Regions from separate parts of the Homo sapiens genome. Here regions 2, 3, 4 and 5 are each linked to region 1. The links are contacts of gene promoters, found by promoter capture Hi-C in blood cells and fetal thymus (Javierre and others, 2016). All regions are on one chromosome and are shown on one strand. Each heading gives the region's core, a stretch centred on a gene start or on the middle of the fragment in contact. The rest is flanking DNA. Distances are from core to core; before and after follow the strand shown.

Region 1 (3,709 bases), core at 245-2,744:
TCCACATGGCAGGTTCCTCAAGTCTTGCAGGTCTTTGCTGAAACGCCACTCCCCCAGAGGAGACATCCCTGACCACTCTGCCTGGCACTCTTTGTTCCCCTTACTCCAGAGCATCTATCACCAACTCACACACTACATATATTCATTTACTCTGTCTCCCATACCAGAATGTAAATCCTTTGAGGGCAGGGATTTTATCTGTCCTGTTCGCTATATGACAATGACATAGAGTAAGGATTGAGCTCAATAATTACTGAGTACATGAATATCACAAGCTATACATCATAGGGATTAGGCCTCCCTCATCTGATTCAAGACTCAGAGGGGGTACATGAACTGCCCAGGCTCACACAGCCAGACAGCAACAGAACCAAGACCTAGGGCTCTTCACTCCTGTTACATCACACCATGGCAATGATTTTACATTCTCCAACTGATTCAAATCATATGGCAGCTAGGGATTTGGGGGCTCCATGTTTTATTTCAATTGCAGTTCAAGATTTCTTTTTATCTTTGTGGCTGAGAACCCTACAATAATTTTGGAAAGCAAAACCCATCTACCTGGAGTAAATCTTTAATATACACCTGACTACACAGGCCACAACATGGGCCGTTCCTGATTCAGAAAATTCTAGAAGGGTCCTATAGGCCCTTGAAGGTTATGATGTTTTAGCTGATCAAGTTCTGTCCTTTGCTGCCTGTGGTCGAATGGTACAGCAGCTGTCTTTTCTGATAAAGGGCACAGTTAGACTTTGGTTTAAACAGGAAGCCAAATGTTAACTCCTCAGTCTCCAGGTTAGCACACTGGGCTACCTCTGTGGTTTCCACAATTCTCTTCTTTCTTTCCAAACCCTCAGGAGCCACCCTCCATATTAACGCTGTCTCCTTCCAGGTTAAGCTGATGAAAGGAAGGGGAAAACGATTCACTTTCCAAAATTGAATCGGAGAAGTCCAGGGCCTCATAGGAGGAGGCCGCTGTGTGTCCAGATGGCCAAAGGTCTGTGAGAGCCTGGGCCGTGGTTTGCGTCCTCTCGCTAGAGGCCGTGCGCCCTCCCGCCTGGCCCCGACAAGGCGCCCCGAAACCTAGCCCCGCGCCGCTCGCTAGGCCTCCACCTGCGCGGCCCCGCAGCCGCCTGTTCAGGAGCGGCTTCCTCCCTGAGCCTGCGGTCGCCGCAGCCTCCCCGTCTTAGAGCGGGAACCCGGAGCTCGGATGCGGTCCCAGGATGGGCGCCCCGCGAGCAGGCTGGAGGGCGGGGAGAGGGCGCGGCAGCCGCGGGCCTCGGTTTCTTCATCTGCAAAGGGAAGGGTGGGGGGTCCCCAAGACCCCAGTCCACCGGCAGGGACGGCGACGCGTCCGGCCTCCGCCGCGCCCGCAACACTTGTCCCGGGCGCCCCCCGCCCTCTCCCGGACCTACTTCCCCGAGCCGCTCACGCCCATCACCAGCAGCGCGCCCGGCGCCGCCATAACCCAAGCTCGGCTCCTTCCCGTCGCCTTCCGGGCCCCGCCGGCCCCGGCCTACCCGGCGCTCGAGGGGCGGAGCCGCTCTCGCCCCGGCCGGGGCAGTGAGGGCCGTGCCCCTCTGCGCCCTCCCCGTTTTCCCGCGCCCCTTTTCCATGCTTTCCTCCTCCCTTTCCCAACCTCCCGGCCTCTCTCTCCTGCCCCTTCTTTTCCTCTCCCCTCCCCTCCCTCTTTCCTCTTCCCGGAAGTGAAGCGCGCGCCCGGCCTGGCACTCGCGTCTCCCTGGGCTGGAGGGAGCCGCCCAAAGCCCCGCCACCTGTCGTTCTACTGCCCCGGCCCCTCTTGGTTCCAGAGGATCCTCACCCTGGCAGGCCGGATCCTCATCCACCCATGGAAAGCATTCATTCATTCATTTATAAAAATGTTCTTGTAAAAAGAATAAACAGAAAATAAGACTCATAATTTCCCACACCAGGCAGCAATAAGCAGCACTTCCTAAAACGACTCCCCTTTCCCCGCGCCCCGTCGTAGATAGATGGGTATGAGTATTTTGTAAAACTGGGATCAGGCCGTACACAGCGTTTTGTAATCTGGCCTTTTGTCACAATAATAAATGGCGGCCATCTTTTGGTGTCAAACTTAGGGTTGAGTGTTGACCGTAGCAGCATATGTCTTGGCTGTATGGCTCTGCTGTTAAATCCAGCACTGGTTGGGGCTTTAAGAGGAAGGAGCACCACTTTAAAGTGTCCATTTGCTTTAAAACAATGTTAATTATGTGTCGTTTGAACTATTTGATTAAAAGCACTTCTTTTTTTTTTTGAGACGGAGTCTCGCTCTGTCGCCCAGGTGGGACTGCGGACTGCAGTGGCGCAATCTCGGCTCACTGCAAGCTCCGCTTCCCGGGTTCACGCCATTCTCCTGCCTCAGCCTCCCGAGTAGCTGGGACTACAGGCGCCCGCCACCGCGCCCGGCTAATTTTTTTTGTATTTTTAGTAGAGACGGGGTTTCACCTTGTTAGCCAGGATGGTCTCGATCTCCTGACCTCATGATCCACCCGCCTCGGCCTCCCAAAGTGATTAAAAGCACTTCTAACCGCATTTGGCATCACCTCCTTTGGTCTTTTGTTAACCAAGGTAGGTATTACTCTGTGTCCTAGAAAACAATAAAAGTGACATAAAAGCATTTATCTAATGAATAGTTCAATTACCCCTGCACTGCCTTTGTTTTTCATATACTTAGCCCGAGTAGGTGAGATTTCAATCTGGATGGGGGCTGTACAGGTGAAGAAATTGAGGCTTGGAGAGAGGTCTTACAATTCAGTTATGGTCAATACACATTTCTTGAACATCTACCATGTGCTGGTTAATATCATATTAATATTCATTTAAAAGATTACCCTCTAGGCATTCTCAAGCTTGATAAGAGGAATAGATGTGTATGCAAATACTCTTAACTCGTGCCCTGCTTCGCTAGCTCAGTATGAAAAAAAAAAGCTCATATTTCTTTCAATGTTCAAATCAGAATGATTAGCAGAAAATCTGATTCTTCTCCTTGGATTTCTTTCCCCAGACATGTCCAAGGATCTTAAACTTGCTGTGCTGCTCAGGGTGGTGGCAGGAAACAGCATGCTCAAATTGGGGCAGGTGAACAGGATTTAACAAAGGGACTATTAGCACAGGTGTGGGTAGGGTCAGAAAAAGCAACTAGGGGCAGAGTCCACATCTGAGTAACCGAGAAGTGTTTTCACTCTTAAATAGAAAGGGGCTGATGAGAGGGAGCCTTTATATGGGAAGGGAAGAGAATGGAAGGAGAGAGACAGAGAGAATAGACCATATAGAAAGAAGTGTCTGACAGGACTGTAGCCTTAGGAAGAGAGAGATAGACATTCCTTGTTGACCCAGCAGAAAAATAATCAGGAGAATAAATAACCTCCCCTCCCCTCCTCTTGCCCTGTGATCTCCTGCTCGTGGCCAAACCCCACCAGCCAAACCCAATTGGAAGGTGGAGAGCTAGGGAGTCCGGCGGTGCCCATGCATGCCAATTTCCTGGGCTCAGAGCAGGGAAGAGAAGGGTGGAGATTGTATCTGGAGGTACCAATGAAAGATACCCAGCATGCCAGTGTCAGTGAAACTCTGTGCCTGCTTCCAGGACAGCGGAACTTCAAAGGTGCCCCTAAGAGCTGAATTCCACGTTTTTTTTTTTGCTTTCCAAAGAGTGCCACCTGCTGGTCCTGGTTGTCTCGGTGCTTCC
Region 2 (3,526 bases), core at 927-3,426, 310 kb after region 1:
AGTTTTGGAATACAAGATATATATGCAGAAATCGGTAGTATTATTATACATTGTATTAGTCAATTTTCACACTGCTGATAAAGACATATCCAAGACTGGGCAATTTACAAAAGAAAGAAGTTTATTTGATTTACAGTTCTACATGGCTTGGGAGGCCTCACAATTATGGTGGAAGGCAAGGAGGAGCAAGTCACATCTTACATGGATGGCAGCAGGCAAAGAGAGAGCTTGTGCAGAGAAACTCTCATTTTTAAAACCATTGGATCTCATGTGACCCATTCACTATCAAGAGAACAGCAAGGGAAAGACCCACCCCATGATTCAATCATCTCCCACTGGGTTGCTCCCACAACACATGGTCACTTGAGGTCAGGAGTTCAAGACCAGCATGGCCAACATGGTGAAACCCCATCTCTACTAAAAGTACAAAAATTAGCTGGACCTGGTGGCACATGCCTGTAATCCCAGCTACTCAGGAGGCTGAGGCAGGAGAATCCCTTGAACCTGGGAGGCAGAGGTTGCAGTGAGCCAAGATCATGCCACTGCATTTCAGCCTGGGTGACAGAGCAAGACTCCATTTAAATAAATAAATAAATAATCCTGGGAAAATTGATAGCTGCATGCAGAAGAGTGAAACTGGACCCATACATCTCACCATAAACAAAAATTAACTCAAGATGGATTAAAGACCTAAACATAAGACCTTGAACTATAAAAATCCTAGAAGAAAACCTAGGAAAAACTCTTCTGGACATTCACCAAAGAATTTGTGACCAATTCCTCAAATTAAAATGCAACAAAACAAAAATAGGCAAATGGGACTTAATTAAACTAAAATGCAGCAAAACAAAAATAGGCAAATGAGACATAATTAAACTAAAAAGCTTCTGCACAGCAAAAGAAATAATTAACAGAGTAAACAGACAACCTACAGAATGGGAAAAATACTTGCAAACTATGGGTCTGACAAAGGGCTAATATCTGGAATTTACATGGAACTCAAACAACTCAACAAGAAAAAAAACAACCCCCCTTAAAAAATGAGCAAAGAACATTGAAGGCCATTTTTCAAAAGAAGACATCCAAGTGGCCAAGAAACATGAAAAAAATGTTCAACATCACTAAACATCAGAGAAATGCAAATTAAAACCACAATGAGAGACCATCTTACACCAGTCAGAAAGACTATTACTAAAAAGTCAAAAAACAACAGATGTTGTCAAGGATGCAGAGAAAAGAAAACACTTATAACTGTTGGTAGGAATGTAAATTAAAACAACTTTTTGGGGGAACAGTGTGGAGATTTCTTAAAGAACTAAAAATAGAACTACTATTTGATCCAGCAATCTCACTATTTTCCCTTTGTGTATATATATCTACCCAAAGGAAAATAAATCATCATATCAAAGAGATACCGGCACTCATATGTTTATTACAGCACTATTCACCATGGCAAATATATGGAATCAGCTAAGTGTCCATCAATGGAGAACTGGACAAGGAAAATGTGATATATATATATACACACACACACACACATATTATATATAATATATATAGCATGGAATACTATTGAACCATAAAAGGAATGAGATCATGTCTTTTGCAGTAACATGGATAGAAGCAGAGGCTATTATCCTTAGTGAAATAACTCAGAAACAGAAAAGGCAAATACTGCATGTTCTCATTTATAAGTTGGAACTAAACAATGAAGACGCATGGGCATATAGAGGAGAGTAATAGACATTGGAAAGTACAAGATATGGGATGGTGGGAGGAGGTGAGGGTTACAGTGTTCACTATTTGGGTGATAGTTGCACTAAAAGCCCAGACTTTAACACTATGGAATATATGCACATAGGAAATCTGCACTTGTACCTCCTAAATATATAGAAAATAGACATTAAAAATTAAATAAAATAATTTACATTTTCTTGATCATAAGAAGCTAAGCACATTTTCATGTAGTTATTGGCTAGTTAGACGTCCTATTTGGTAAGTGCCTATTAAGTCTTTTGCTTATTGTGCAGAGGTTGGAGTCGTGGTTACTGGTTTTGAAACATATTTTGTTGCTCTTTATTGATTTACAGGAGTTTAAAAAATATTCCAGATAGGTGTCCTTTTTTGGTTGTACGTGTTGCTGACAGCTTTTCCCATACTGTAGCTTGCCTTTTTCCACCCTGGCTGGTATCTCCTGATGAACAGATGTCCTAGAGTTTAAGGGTGTGTCCTCAGGGGCTGTGTAGCACTGGTACCCTGCTGCCATCTGGGATTGGCTGTGATTGGAAATTAGATGCTCATCAGATTTAGGAAGGACAAGGAAGTGGTCAGAAAGAGACCACCTAGGCAAGGAAAAATTATTCACTTTTCAAAGTGAACATCCAAATGATAACCTTTCACAATTATCTTGTTCCTATATTGAAGAGGGTATGCTTTGAAAACAAACTTGAGTTTTATGAATAAATGACATGTAGCTTTTAGAAAGGTGGTGACAGTTCAATGAATAATGAGAATGGCTAGCTCTGTAGATCAGAGGAGTACTTATTAGTGGGTGGTAGAATGAGGGCCTTTCAAGTAAACTGGGAGGATCACCCCGAGCAAAGCTGATTGCCCAAGGCTATGGGAGGCACAGGGCTGCTTTGGCTCTGGTCCTGGTTCACTTTGGTCTTGGTCTGGGTCGTTAGGGTGAAGTTTTGCATTGAGGGCCAGAAGAGTGGGTTGCTGCTTAGTGACATGCTGGGTATTTTGACTGCTTTGTCCCTAGTTGGGAAGGTGAGATGAGTATACAAATGAGTGTGTGTGTGTGTGTGTGTGTGTGTGTGTGTGTATGCATGAGAGACGGCTCAATAATATGTGAATTCAATAAGTTTGTTTTCTGTATTTTTTTTTTAAGACAGGATCTTTCTTGCTCTGCCACCCAGGCTGAAGGACAGTGGCACGATCATAGTGCACAATATCTGGCTAATTTAAAAAAAAATTTTTTTAGAAGTGACCTTGCTACATTGCCAGGCTTGTTTTGAACTTCTGGGCTCAAGTGATCCTCCCACCTTAGCCTCCCAAAGTGTGGGGATAACAGGCATGAGCCACTGCACCAAGCCTGACTTCAATAATTTTCTGTATGGTTTATTTGTTGGTGGAGAGTAAGATATTACTTCAAGAACTTATGAGAGAGATGGAGAGAGAAATACCATATGGATTAAGAAAACCTTCCAGAGATCTCTTTTCCCATCCCTGTCAATATAGTTGTTAATTTTCCTGAGTCCATTGTTACTTTATCAAAAGGAAAAAATTATAATGACTGTGTCTTGAAAAGAAAAGAATCAAAGAAATGGCCCAAGATAGTAATTGCTGGATCGAAAGTGCCCACAAGTACTGATTGGGATGAATACATAAAGATATTCTCTATATACATATATCACAGTGAAATTTCAGAACACTAAAATGAATAAGGAAATCTTGAAAAGCTTTAGACTTTATTTTTCTAAAGCACAAATTTGACTTAATTCCTCAGGAGTATTCTGTAGAT
Region 3 (3,314 bases), core at 4-2,503, 280 kb before region 1:
AAGCAGTGATGTCCATGCTGGCTGCCACACAATTAGTACACGTGGGAAGCTTTTTAAAAATACTGATTTCTGGGTCCTACTTCACAGGGATTCTGATTTAATTGGTCTGAGATGGTACCTGGGCATTGGCACTTTCTTTTTATAAAGCTACCAGGTGATTTGCATCTGGATTCGAGAACCATAGTGCTAACTTATAGCCTAACACTGGAAAAATTTAATGAAAGTTTTACTATGACTTACAGGACTTTAAATGAACTGGGTTGTTTAAAAAGTGTCATGATGGAAATAATGAAACTGAAATGATTATTTTTTAAAGAAATAGTGATGTGACAGTATCTGAGTAAAGAGGAATTATGGCAATATAATTTGAGCATGAAATCAGGAGCTTTTCTTCTCTGATTCAATTCCTAAGTCCACCTACTTCTCTTTGAAATATTTTTGGATATAGGCCGGGTGCGGTGGCTCACGCCTGTAATCCCAGCACTTTGGGAGGCCGAGGCAGGTGGATCACGAGGTCAGGAGATCGAGACCATCCTAGCTAACACAGTGAAACCCCGTCTGTACTAAAAATACAAAAAATTAGCCAGGCGTGGTGGTGGGCGCCTGTAATCCCAGCTACTCAGGAGGCTGAGGCAGGAGAATGGTGTGAACCCGGGAGGCGGAGCTTGCAGTGAGCTGAGATTGCGCCACTGCACTCCAGCCTGGGGACAGAGCGAGACTCCATCTCAAGAAAAAAAAAAAAAGAAATATTTTTGGATATAAACAAATAATGCGGGTAGTAAATGTAGGTTATTTTTAGTTCATTCTGCGATTGAAATAAAAACTTTTTTTTCTTTTTTGAGTATGGTACATTATGGTGTTCAAAGTGTTTTCTTTTAATTGCCATCTCATCTGTTTACCTTGCACTCTGATGCAAGGTAAACAGATACCTGTTTTTAAAATGAATAACCAACTTTATTTATAAACCATACCTATTTTTAAAATGAATAACCAACTTTATTTGTATTGAATTTTTTACTCTTCATTGATTATGACCTCACGATACCAAAAAACATAAAAGCTAAGGATGGCTTGATTATTAACAAAACTGAAAAAAAAAACGAATGCCTTTTAATTGATACTAATTAATTCTTCTAATCTACTGATTAACTTTTTTGAATTATATATTTGATTAATTTATAAAAGATTAATCTAGGCCAGGTGCAGTGGCTCACACCTGTTATCCCAGCACTTTGGGAGGCCAAGGCAGGTGGATCACCTGAGGTCAGGAGTTCAAGACCAGCCTGGCCAACGTGGTGAAACCCCATCTCTACTAAAAATACAAAAAAATTAGCCAGGTGTGGTAGCGCATGCCTGTAATCCCAACTACTCGGGAGGCTAAGGCAGGAGAATCACTTGAACCCGAGGTAGAGGTTGCAGTGAGCCAAGATTGTGACACTGCACTCTAGCCTGGGCAACAGGCCGAGACTCCGTCTCAAGAAAAAAAAAAGGATTAATCTATTAGGCTTTACAAATCAAAAGACTGGAATGAAGGGTTTTTCTTTTGTCAGTCATTTTAAGGAATTGAGTGTGACTCATGACTCAAGATAAACTAGATTGTTTTTTCAAAAAATTGTAGCTTTTAGAATATAAACATCAAAATAAGTGCTGTCTGTTAAAATAGTTTCTTTGGGAGATTATCCAAAATTATTTGATGATGTTGCTGATGTTATTATTATTATCTGAAATGCTGTTGACTTTTTAAAAAAGGGACTATCTTGGCCAGGCTGTTTAGCAAATGGTAACTGTTAACTATACTAGGTTTTGATGAAAACTTGGCTTAAAAACATGTTATTACTATTTTAAGTGATTGTTGGGGCCAAGGAATGCCATGTGGAGAGTGCAGGTGAAGTGATGAGTCTTTTGGAGATGGGGAATGCAGCCAGACATACAGGTACCACTCAAATGAATGAGCACTCCAGCAGATCACATGCAATTTTTACAATCAGCATTTGTCAAGTTCATAAAAATATGGAGGCAGCTGAAGATGGATCATGGTATTCCCCTCGGCATATTGTCTCAAAGTTCCACTTTGTGGATTTGGCAGGATCAGAAAGAGTAACCAAAACGGGGAATACTGGTGAACGGTTCAAAGAATCCATTCAAATCAATAGTGGATTGCTGGCTTTAGGAAATGTAATAAGCGCTCTTGGGGACCCACGCAGGAAGAGTTCACATATTCCATATAGGGATGCTAAAATTACCCGGCTTCTGAAAGATTCTCTGGGAGGCAGTGCTAAGACTGTCATGATCACATGTGTCAGCCCCTCCTCCTCGAATTTTGATGAGTCCTTAAATTCTCTCAAATATGCCAACAGAGCACGGAACATTAGAAACAAACCCACTGTAAACTTCAGCCCCGAGTCAGACCGTATAGATGAAATGGAATTTGAGATTAAATTGCTTCGAGAAGCTTTGCAAAGCCAGCAGGCTGGTGTCAGCCAAACTACCCAGATCAATCGAGAAGGGAGTCCTGATACAAATAGGATTCATTCTCTTGAGGAGCAAGTAGCTCAGCTTCAAGGAGAATGTCTGGGTTACCAGTGTTGTGTAGAAGAAGCCTTTACCTTCCTGGTTGACCTAAAAGATACTGTCAGACTAAACGAAAAGCAGCAACACAAACTGCAGGAGTGGTTTAACATGATCCAAGAGGTCAGGAAGGCTGTCCTCACCTCATTTCGAGGAATCGGAGGCACTGCAAGTCTGGAAGAAGGACCACAGCATGTTACAGTTCTCCAGCTGAAGAGAGAGCTTAAGAAATGCCAGGTACTTAGACATCACTTATTTATTTATTTATTTATTTTATTGATACATAATAGATGTACATATTTTGGGGGTACATGTGTTAACATATTTAGACATTGTTATGGATAACTCTTTTAAGGACTAAATTTATTTGGGCAAGTAAATTCTAAGAGTGATTTTGGAATTTCAGGTTTTTTTAAAAAATGATTTATATATGGAATCCCACTTGCCTCTCTTACTTTGTTCTTTCTACCCTCCCCTTTCCTATTGCTTCCTCCTCACAATTCATACCCTTCTTGGCTCCTCCTCCTTTCTCCTTTGGTTAAAGTGTATTTTAATTTGTTATATTTATTAAATAGAACTTTGTGGACCTGGTTGTCAATTTAGAGACTGAAAATAAACTTGTTTCGGAAATAAAACTTAAGTTATCTTTTACTGAGTTTTTCTCCCTCTCTTGGTCAGTAGTTCTTGAAAGAAAAAAATACTTCATCTCTTGTGTTTGGAGTATAGGTTTTAAAAAAAACCAACAA
Region 4 (3,464 bases), core at 523-3,022, 260 kb after region 1:
CTACTTGCTCACAGTTCTGGAGGCCAGAAGTCTGAAACCAAGTTGTCAGCAGGGCCATGCTCCCTCCGAAGGCTCTAGGGAAGAATGCTTCCTGCCTTTTCTGGCTTCTGCTGGTTTCCTGCAGTCCTTGGCCTTCCTTGGCTTGTAGCTGCCTCACTCCACACTCTGCCTCCATCTTCACATGGTGCCTCCCTATGTTTCTCTGTGCCCTGTGTCAAAGTCTCACTCTCCTTTCTCTTATAAAGATATCAGTCAATGGATTTAGGGACCACCCTAACCTAATATGAATGCATTGTAATTAATTAATCAATTACATCTACAAAGACCCTATTTCCAAATAGGGTTCCATTCTGAGGTTCTAGGTGGACATGGGTTTTTTAGATCTCCAGTACTCTCAGCATTTTTCTTTAGCCTCTTTCTTTAGCTTACTACCTCTAGCCCCCTTTGTGTATGTTGTTCTGTTTTGCTGACCTTGGTCACATGCTTTTGACAGTAAAGCTTTGCACAATTCATTTCTTCCAATCCCTGTTGTGGCTGTAACCCTGCCTCCAGAGTGAGGGGCAGCCTATGCTATCATCCTCATTCGTATAACCTACTTGTCTAATCATAATCTCCAGCACTGGGTTTGGAAAATTTCTTCACCTGTTCCATGGCTTTGTATAAAATGTTATGCATGTTATTGATTCATAATAAATGCTTTCTGACTAGGATTAAAATGCTCTTTTTACAGCACAGGTGGAAGTTCAAATGCTATTTTTTTACAAAAAAAAGCAAAACATACAACTGAACACAGCTCATTACATAAATCAAAAAGTACAAAGTCCCCAAGTACTATGGTTTAGTTTTGGATGCCTTTGTTCTTCCCAGTTTTCTTCTTCCAAAGCTTCTTTCCAAGAAGAGCAGCTATGATTTTTGTTTCAGCCATGGAGTGTCTCCAGCGTTGGACACCTGTTTGCTTACCTTGTTCTAGAGACAGCTCATTAGGTTGGGCCAGGTATCTGTTATTCTACCAAGTTCAACTGTTCATCAAAATTTTTATATTTGATCCTTCTCCCAGAAAGTTAATGCAATTTGAGCCTATAAATGGTTTCCATGTTGTGCTCTTTCTTTGTTTCCCAATATGGAAGGAGAGGACAGTAACAATAGTAATGACAAAAACCCTTAATTTTATAGCATGCAGTTCTAAATGATGTGCACACTTGACAAGCCATAGATTTCTAATTTTTAACTTTATGCTTATGCAATGGTTGGTGGCAACACTGACATCATTTTGATTGGGTGCAGTAGTGTGTGCAGGGGTTTCAGGGAGTACCTAGCACTCCTCGTGGGAAGCGGGGTAGTGTGACAGGGGTAGTGGAGGAAGCAGAAGGAATAGGAGCCTCTCCTGGGGGAAGTCCTTATATCTCTGGGGCAGTACTTTCAGGGGCTTTCTTCTTCCTTCAGGAATGCCCGCATTCTTTCTTAGGGGCCCACACGACTCAAAACTACACATGCTGGCAGCATGAGTGTCTGAATGATAACCATGATGGGCAGGAGGTTCCATGCTCGGTATGTGAGTACTAGAGGTGGTTCAAGTGTGGGCCAAGTGGGTAGGAAGGCTTTGTTCATGTCTCCCTTTGGTGGGAGAGCCTTTATAATGCCTGATTTTTGGATGCAACTTTATAGTATCAAATCTCAATACCAAGTTATGTAAGTAGTTGAATTTTTCTGTTACAGTTGTTATTTCTACATATTGATTTACACCTATCAACATGACTCCAAGGGTCTGGCTAGTTATACAACATCAGCAGCAAACAGGTTCCTGGGTCTCTTGCCTTCAGTTTCATGTGTTCTTGCTAACCTTTTGGCTAAAATGTTTAGGTCATTGTACCCTCGGCTCAGGCAGCAAAGCTGTCCTTTAGATGCCAGGGCTGCCAAATATCTCTTCATATACACACCTGTCTCATGCCCACTTCTTCCTCACTCCTCCCTGAGAGATGACAGTGCCCCCTCACTCTTTCAACCCAGGTAAAAGGCAAGGTAACATTGAAGGACTTGACTTTAGCCATGTTGGTTTCTTCCCTGCACTTTAGAGTAACAATAATTCCTATGCATTCAGTCCACAGGTCTCAGCAGGCTGCGAAGTGCTTTGCAGTCATGAACTCATGTCATCCTCATTGTGGTCTCTACGCAGTCATGAACTCATGTCATCCTCATTGTGGTCTCTACGACGGGTCGCAGGCCACACCTAGTCACCACCTATGTTCATATGGCCTTTGGTCTAGGAATAGGTTTCACATTTTTAAATGGTTGAAAAAAACCAAAAGATATATAAGATTTTTGTGGCATACAAAAATGATACAAATTCAAACTTCAGTGTTTTATTGGAGCACAGCTATACACACTTGTTTATGTATTGGTGGTGGCTGCTTCTCTACTACAACAACTGGGTGGAGTCGTTGAGACAGAAAACTCGAGCCTTCCAAAGTTGAAAATATTTATTCTCTAGCCCTTTACAGAGAAAGTTTGATGCCCTGCTCTCTGTGGTTGGTTCCATTATTATTCCCATTTTACAGATGAGGAAATGGAGGCAGGGAGTTTTAAGTTTGGACGCAGCAATTTGTTCAAATGACAAACTTGAGGTTAGAAGTATGGGACCCCAAAGTCTCTTTTCAAGCTTCTCCTGAGCAGGCATAGGCAGGAAGAGAATTCAGAGACCAAGGATTTGTGAGGCAACCACTCAGCATTCCAATCTCCCTTAAGAGAGTTCTCTGAGTGACTGTAGTCAGTGCCTACGAGTGTGGGTGGGCATGCCTGTGTGTGATAAAAGCATAGGAGGGAACTGTAACGAGAGGAAGATGAATTAAACATGATTTTAAAAACCTGTCTCTGCTTTGGAAGCTGGGGAAACACAGTGATTATCATTTCAGTAAGAGTGGGGGAAGGATCATCACTGTTGCTGATGATGCTGATAGTAACAGTTGTTGTTTAATGATTATAATCATTTCCATGTAGAAGAGAGCAGTCATGAATGCAGCCTGCACTCTCTGTGGCTGGCTTATTTACACATATTTCTAGAGTCACAGTTGGAGAATGAGTGAGCAATGTTCTCCCCTTTAGGTGCTCAAGCGTCATTTTGCATATGTGCAGAGGTAGTTTGTGCTTTCGAACCATATCATTATTGAATGCAGCACAGTTGAATCCATTGGCATCACTGTGCATGGCATGTGCACAACAGGAATATAGGCAACAGTGACCAAGCTGAGAATAAAATCAAGAACTCAATCCCTTTCACAATAGCTACAAATAAATAAATAAATAAATAAATAAATAAATAAATAAATACTTAAGAATATACCTAACCAAGGAGGTGAAAGACCTCTACAAGGGAAACTACAAAACACTGCTGAAAGAAATCATAGACAACACAAACAAACGGAAACACATCCCATGCTCATGGATGGATGGAATCAATATTGTGAAAA
Region 5 (3,654 bases), core at 342-2,841, 290 kb after region 1:
CACTCCATATGCACCCTGCTCATGTTATTGTTTTTAATCTTTCTCTGTCTCTTTATTTTTTCACTCATTACAGCTGAGCTTGGTGATTACGATCCTGATGAGCATCCTGAGAATTACATCAGTGAGTTTGAGATTTTCCCCAAGCAGTCACAGAAGCTGGAAAGAAAAATAGTGGAAATTCATAAAAATGAACTCAGGTAATTACTGAGTAGACATTTGTGAAAATGATAAAGGGGAGAAAATATTCTTACTGCAGGGAATGTGGAAATCACATCGTGAAGGAGGAATATTTGTAATGTATGGATAGGCTGTTTTGCGTGGCAGCGCAATTTTTCTGGGCACTGTCAAGGACACCCTGGTGTCCTCCGTCAATAACAATCTCAACAGTTTGGAGTCCTATGAGTGGCTGTTTATGATCCATCAGTAGTTATTAGATCCATGTATTTTCTTACACATATGGATTTCTAAACACCCTGAGCTTCTGAAAGTGGAATCTAAGGTAAATAAGTAAACCTTTCTGATTTGAATTTTGTGTTGCCTTTTTCCCACCGGTGGCCATAGCTGGAAGCATTGACTCCAAGTAGAATAGAATCCATTGGGAAGATTCCCTTTGCTGAGCTACTTTCAAGATGACAGATTTAGTGTCTGATCCTCTTTTTCTCACCTGCGATGCTTCAATGATAGCTGCACAGTAGCAGTGGTAGAAGCAAAATTGCATAGAGCATTCACCACGTTCCTAACACTGTTCTAAGCACTTTGCACATATTAACTCGTTTAATCTTCACAACAACCTAGGAGATAGGTTATTGTTATTCTCATATTACAGATGAGGGAACCGAGGCACAGAGAGGTTAAACAACCTACCCAAGGTCACGCAGCTAGTAAGTATCAGAGCTGGGATTTGAATTCTGGCAGTCTTGGTCTAGAGTCTGTGCCTTTATGCCCTGTGTGATGGTTACACTCTACATGGGCTGCTGGGAATCAAATGAAGTGTGTGTAGGGATCATTGCCAACTTGGAATTTAGGTAATTCAAGTAGTCTAGTCTGTAGCTAGAATTTAGATACTGTGCAAACTACAGAAAAAAAAATCATTTTGGTAATAGCAAGCATGGGCAGTGTTATGACAAGTGTTGATGAAAAACTGCAAGAACTGAGATGCTTCCATGTTCTAGGCCTCTGGTAAGTATAAAGAAAATTGCATCATTGGATTATGCATTCTGGAACAGACAACTGTCCCGGTGTGAGGAAATTGTTCTAGCTCCCTCCTTTATGCAGGCGCGCCCCCTACTGGTGAGTCTGGGAAGAGTATATGTGAGGGCATTCAAGGTGGCAGCTTATTTCAGCTGGGAAAATATGACGCTTAGTCTTAGAGATAAAGATGATTAGACATCAAAACATTGTACTACTTTCAGAAAGCAACAGGCCATCTATGTGGGTAATTTTAGAGTATTGTCTCCTAATGAAAAGCCTTGTTGAAGATACATGAAATTCTCACTACTCTTTTGCTATTTTGGAGACAAATGTACTAGAGGTAGAAATAAAGTTCGATATTTTTGTGGAGGGGTTTGTGGCAGAGCAGTGTTCCGGGGAGCACAGGGTGAGAATCCCTGGATGAAGGAGTTGCACCCACTGTTTGAATTGATAGGAGATGGGAATGGAAAGGTTTTCTATGCCCTGAATTTGCAGGGCCTCTAACGCTCAGAACATAGGATAATAATATACACTTATTGAGCATTTACTTACTAGATGCCAAAACATTGTGCTAAGAGCTTTAAGTGCATTATCCCACTCAGTTCTCCCAAACTCTATTAGATGGGCGCTATTGTTCTTTCTAGTGTGGGATGAGGAAAGTACAAGCTGAAGTGGTTAAAGGACTTGTGCTTTGTAAATAGTGGAGTCAGGACTTGAACCTTGGGTTACCTGGCTCAAGGTATGCCCATGCTCTTCTCCCTTTGTTGAGCGTTTAAAGGGAATCAGGTAGTCGGGTAGGTGTTTCACGGTGATCACCATGTCAGCGGTGCCTGAGGATGGAGAACCAGGGCAGGAGGGCCAGTTAGTAATTTCTGGTATTCAGACAAGAAACGGGAAGGACCTGAAAAAGAATAGGAGTAAAGGAAATTGAAAGAAGAGAGTCATGAGAGGCGTTGCAGCCAGACTTGGTGATCCACAATTTCATGAGAAAATGAGTGAATCACAGAAGATTCCAAGTTGTTTTATTAACATTCAGAAAGCTGTAGCTTGGACCCTGGGCCAGCACCTGAGCTTGTGGAGATCACTGAAAGTGGTCATCATGCACTCAGGGAAGACGGGGGTCATCAGTCACTCGCACTTTATAAATCTTGGAAGTAAGTTCTGTGGTTTGATCAAAGCTGCCATTCTATGGCACATGTGGTCCTGCACATTTGAAACATCCATTAAGCCTTTGTGAAGAGTTGGGAGTTGTATGCCTGAAGGATGAACCTGTCAGGAATCATATCACCTTGCAAGGACAGCTTCAGGGGCTATTTCCCTGTGTATTTTTGCTCATTCTAAGTAGTTCTGTATTTCATTCAGCATCAGTGCAGCAGAGAGATACTTTTGGTTTGGAGGGTAAGACAAGAAGAGCAGAAGAGGCTGACAGTGCAGAGGGAGAGGAGCTTTCTTGCGTCTGTTGGGAAACCTGCTACAGGGACTGAAGGTGCTCTGGGGGTGCCACCACCCCTTCATACACAGGTCAAGAAAGTGTTATCTGTCTTGTGTAAGGAATTGGGCCTTGGTTGAATTACTCTGCAAACCTGACCAAGCCAGGAAGGAGTCATGGATGGAGAAGACCTGTGCTTGGCTGCACCAAACCATGGCCATCCTGCTCTCCAGAGTCACCACAACACCCGTGACCCTCCCACTTAGCTAGGGATGGTGTGTGGCCATCGAACTGCTGTTCTGAAGACTTCCTGAGAGGATTCCAGTTGGCTTTTGTTGGGGTTTGAGGGACCCAATAAATAACCTCCTTCTTCCTTCCTGCTTTCTGAATCAGCTGAGAAATAAAACACAACAGGTGCTCAAATATTAGCAGAAATGATGATTTACAGGGAGATCAACATGTTTACCTCAGGAGGGGGTGGTTTCACAACCTTCTCCCAGCCTTTTTATTGATTAGGATTATTCTGCTCCTGTGATCTCTGAGAGAGGAAAAAAAGTCACCATTCTTGGCAGAAAATTAATGAGAGAGAAAAAAGAAATTTCCTCTCTGGGAGGCTACAGACTGCTTGAAGGTGGGACCAAGATGGCCTGATAGATAGGCAAGAATAACAGAGTTCTTTGGGGGATGGTGGGGGGAGAGAGAGAGAGAGAGAGAAAGAGAGAGAGAGAGACTGACTCTTCCTTGGAGTTTTAAGAAGACCAAGATTTTAAGAAGAATTTTCATGAACTAAATTAGATTGATGACTGAAGGTAAAAGTTCATGCTTGGATCAATGTTTCTTCTTCTGAGTCCTTCACTGTACTGGAGGATAGGGAGAAGCAACAGTCTTGCAAATATAGTAGCATGTTATAGTTATCGATCATCTCTATTTCAGTCAAGATCAGTTAGATTTTGCTGAGGAAACAAACACCCAATGCTCAGTGGCTTAGAGCAAGAAAGGCTTCTTCTTGACTCTGCTCTGTGCCCACCAGAGGC

Evidence for each region. Contacts are between HindIII fragments. The CHiCAGO score rates a contact against its expected background, and 5 or more counts as called.
Region 2: a fragment that was not itself captured here is called in contact with the fragment with the promoter of IDNK in region 1 in 1 of 17 cell types (neutrophils); the score reaches 6.3 in neutrophils.
Region 3: a contact is called between a fragment that was not itself captured here and the fragment with the promoter of IDNK in region 1, in 12 of 17 cell types (naive CD8 T cells, non-activated CD4 T cells, total CD8 T cells and 9 more). The highest score is 14.4, in naive CD8 T cells.
Region 4: a fragment that was not itself captured here is called in contact with the fragment with the promoter of IDNK in region 1 in 1 of 17 cell types (neutrophils); the score reaches 8.2 in neutrophils.
Region 5: a fragment that was not itself captured here is called in contact with the fragment with the promoter of IDNK in region 1 in 6 of 17 cell types (neutrophils, M0 macrophages, monocytes and 3 more); the score reaches 11.0 in neutrophils.

What each region holds. Positions count from the first base shown.
Region 1 is chr9:83,620,928-83,624,636 of GRCh38, reverse strand. IDNK (IDNK gluconokinase) reads right to left here and starts at 1,494. Exons shown (of 5, transcript NM_001001551.4): 1 at 1,416-1,494. The coding sequence starts at 1,465. RefSeq lists enhancers at 890-939, 960-1,089 and a silencer at 1,270-1,799. The HindIII fragment of the contact is 10,566 bases long and covers 1-2,875 here.
Region 2 is chr9:83,316,495-83,320,020 of GRCh38, reverse strand. All of the region lies in intron 6 of FRMD3 (FERM domain containing 3), which reads left to right. Among named protein-coding and RNA genes, the nearest start is that of FRMD3-AS1, 99 kb to the right of the region's middle. The HindIII fragment of the contact is 2,580 bases long and covers 887-3,466 here.
Region 3 is chr9:83,902,551-83,905,864 of GRCh38, reverse strand. KIF27 (kinesin family member 27) reads left to right here. Exons shown (of 18, transcript NM_017576.4): 4 at 1,847-2,805. Among named protein-coding and RNA genes, the nearest start is that of KIF27, 17 kb to the left of the region's middle. The HindIII fragment of the contact is 2,403 bases long and covers 52-2,454 here.
Region 4 is chr9:83,358,533-83,361,996 of GRCh38, reverse strand. All of the region lies in intron 3 of FRMD3 (FERM domain containing 3), which reads left to right. Among named protein-coding and RNA genes, the nearest start is that of FRMD3-AS1, 140 kb to the right of the region's middle. The HindIII fragment of the contact is 1,773 bases long and covers 886-2,658 here.
Region 5 is chr9:83,332,059-83,335,712 of GRCh38, reverse strand. FRMD3 (FERM domain containing 3) reads left to right here. Exons shown (of 14, transcript NM_174938.6): 6 at 74-197. Among named protein-coding and RNA genes, the nearest start is that of FRMD3-AS1, 110 kb to the right of the region's middle. The HindIII fragment of the contact is 7,328 bases long and covers 1-3,654 here.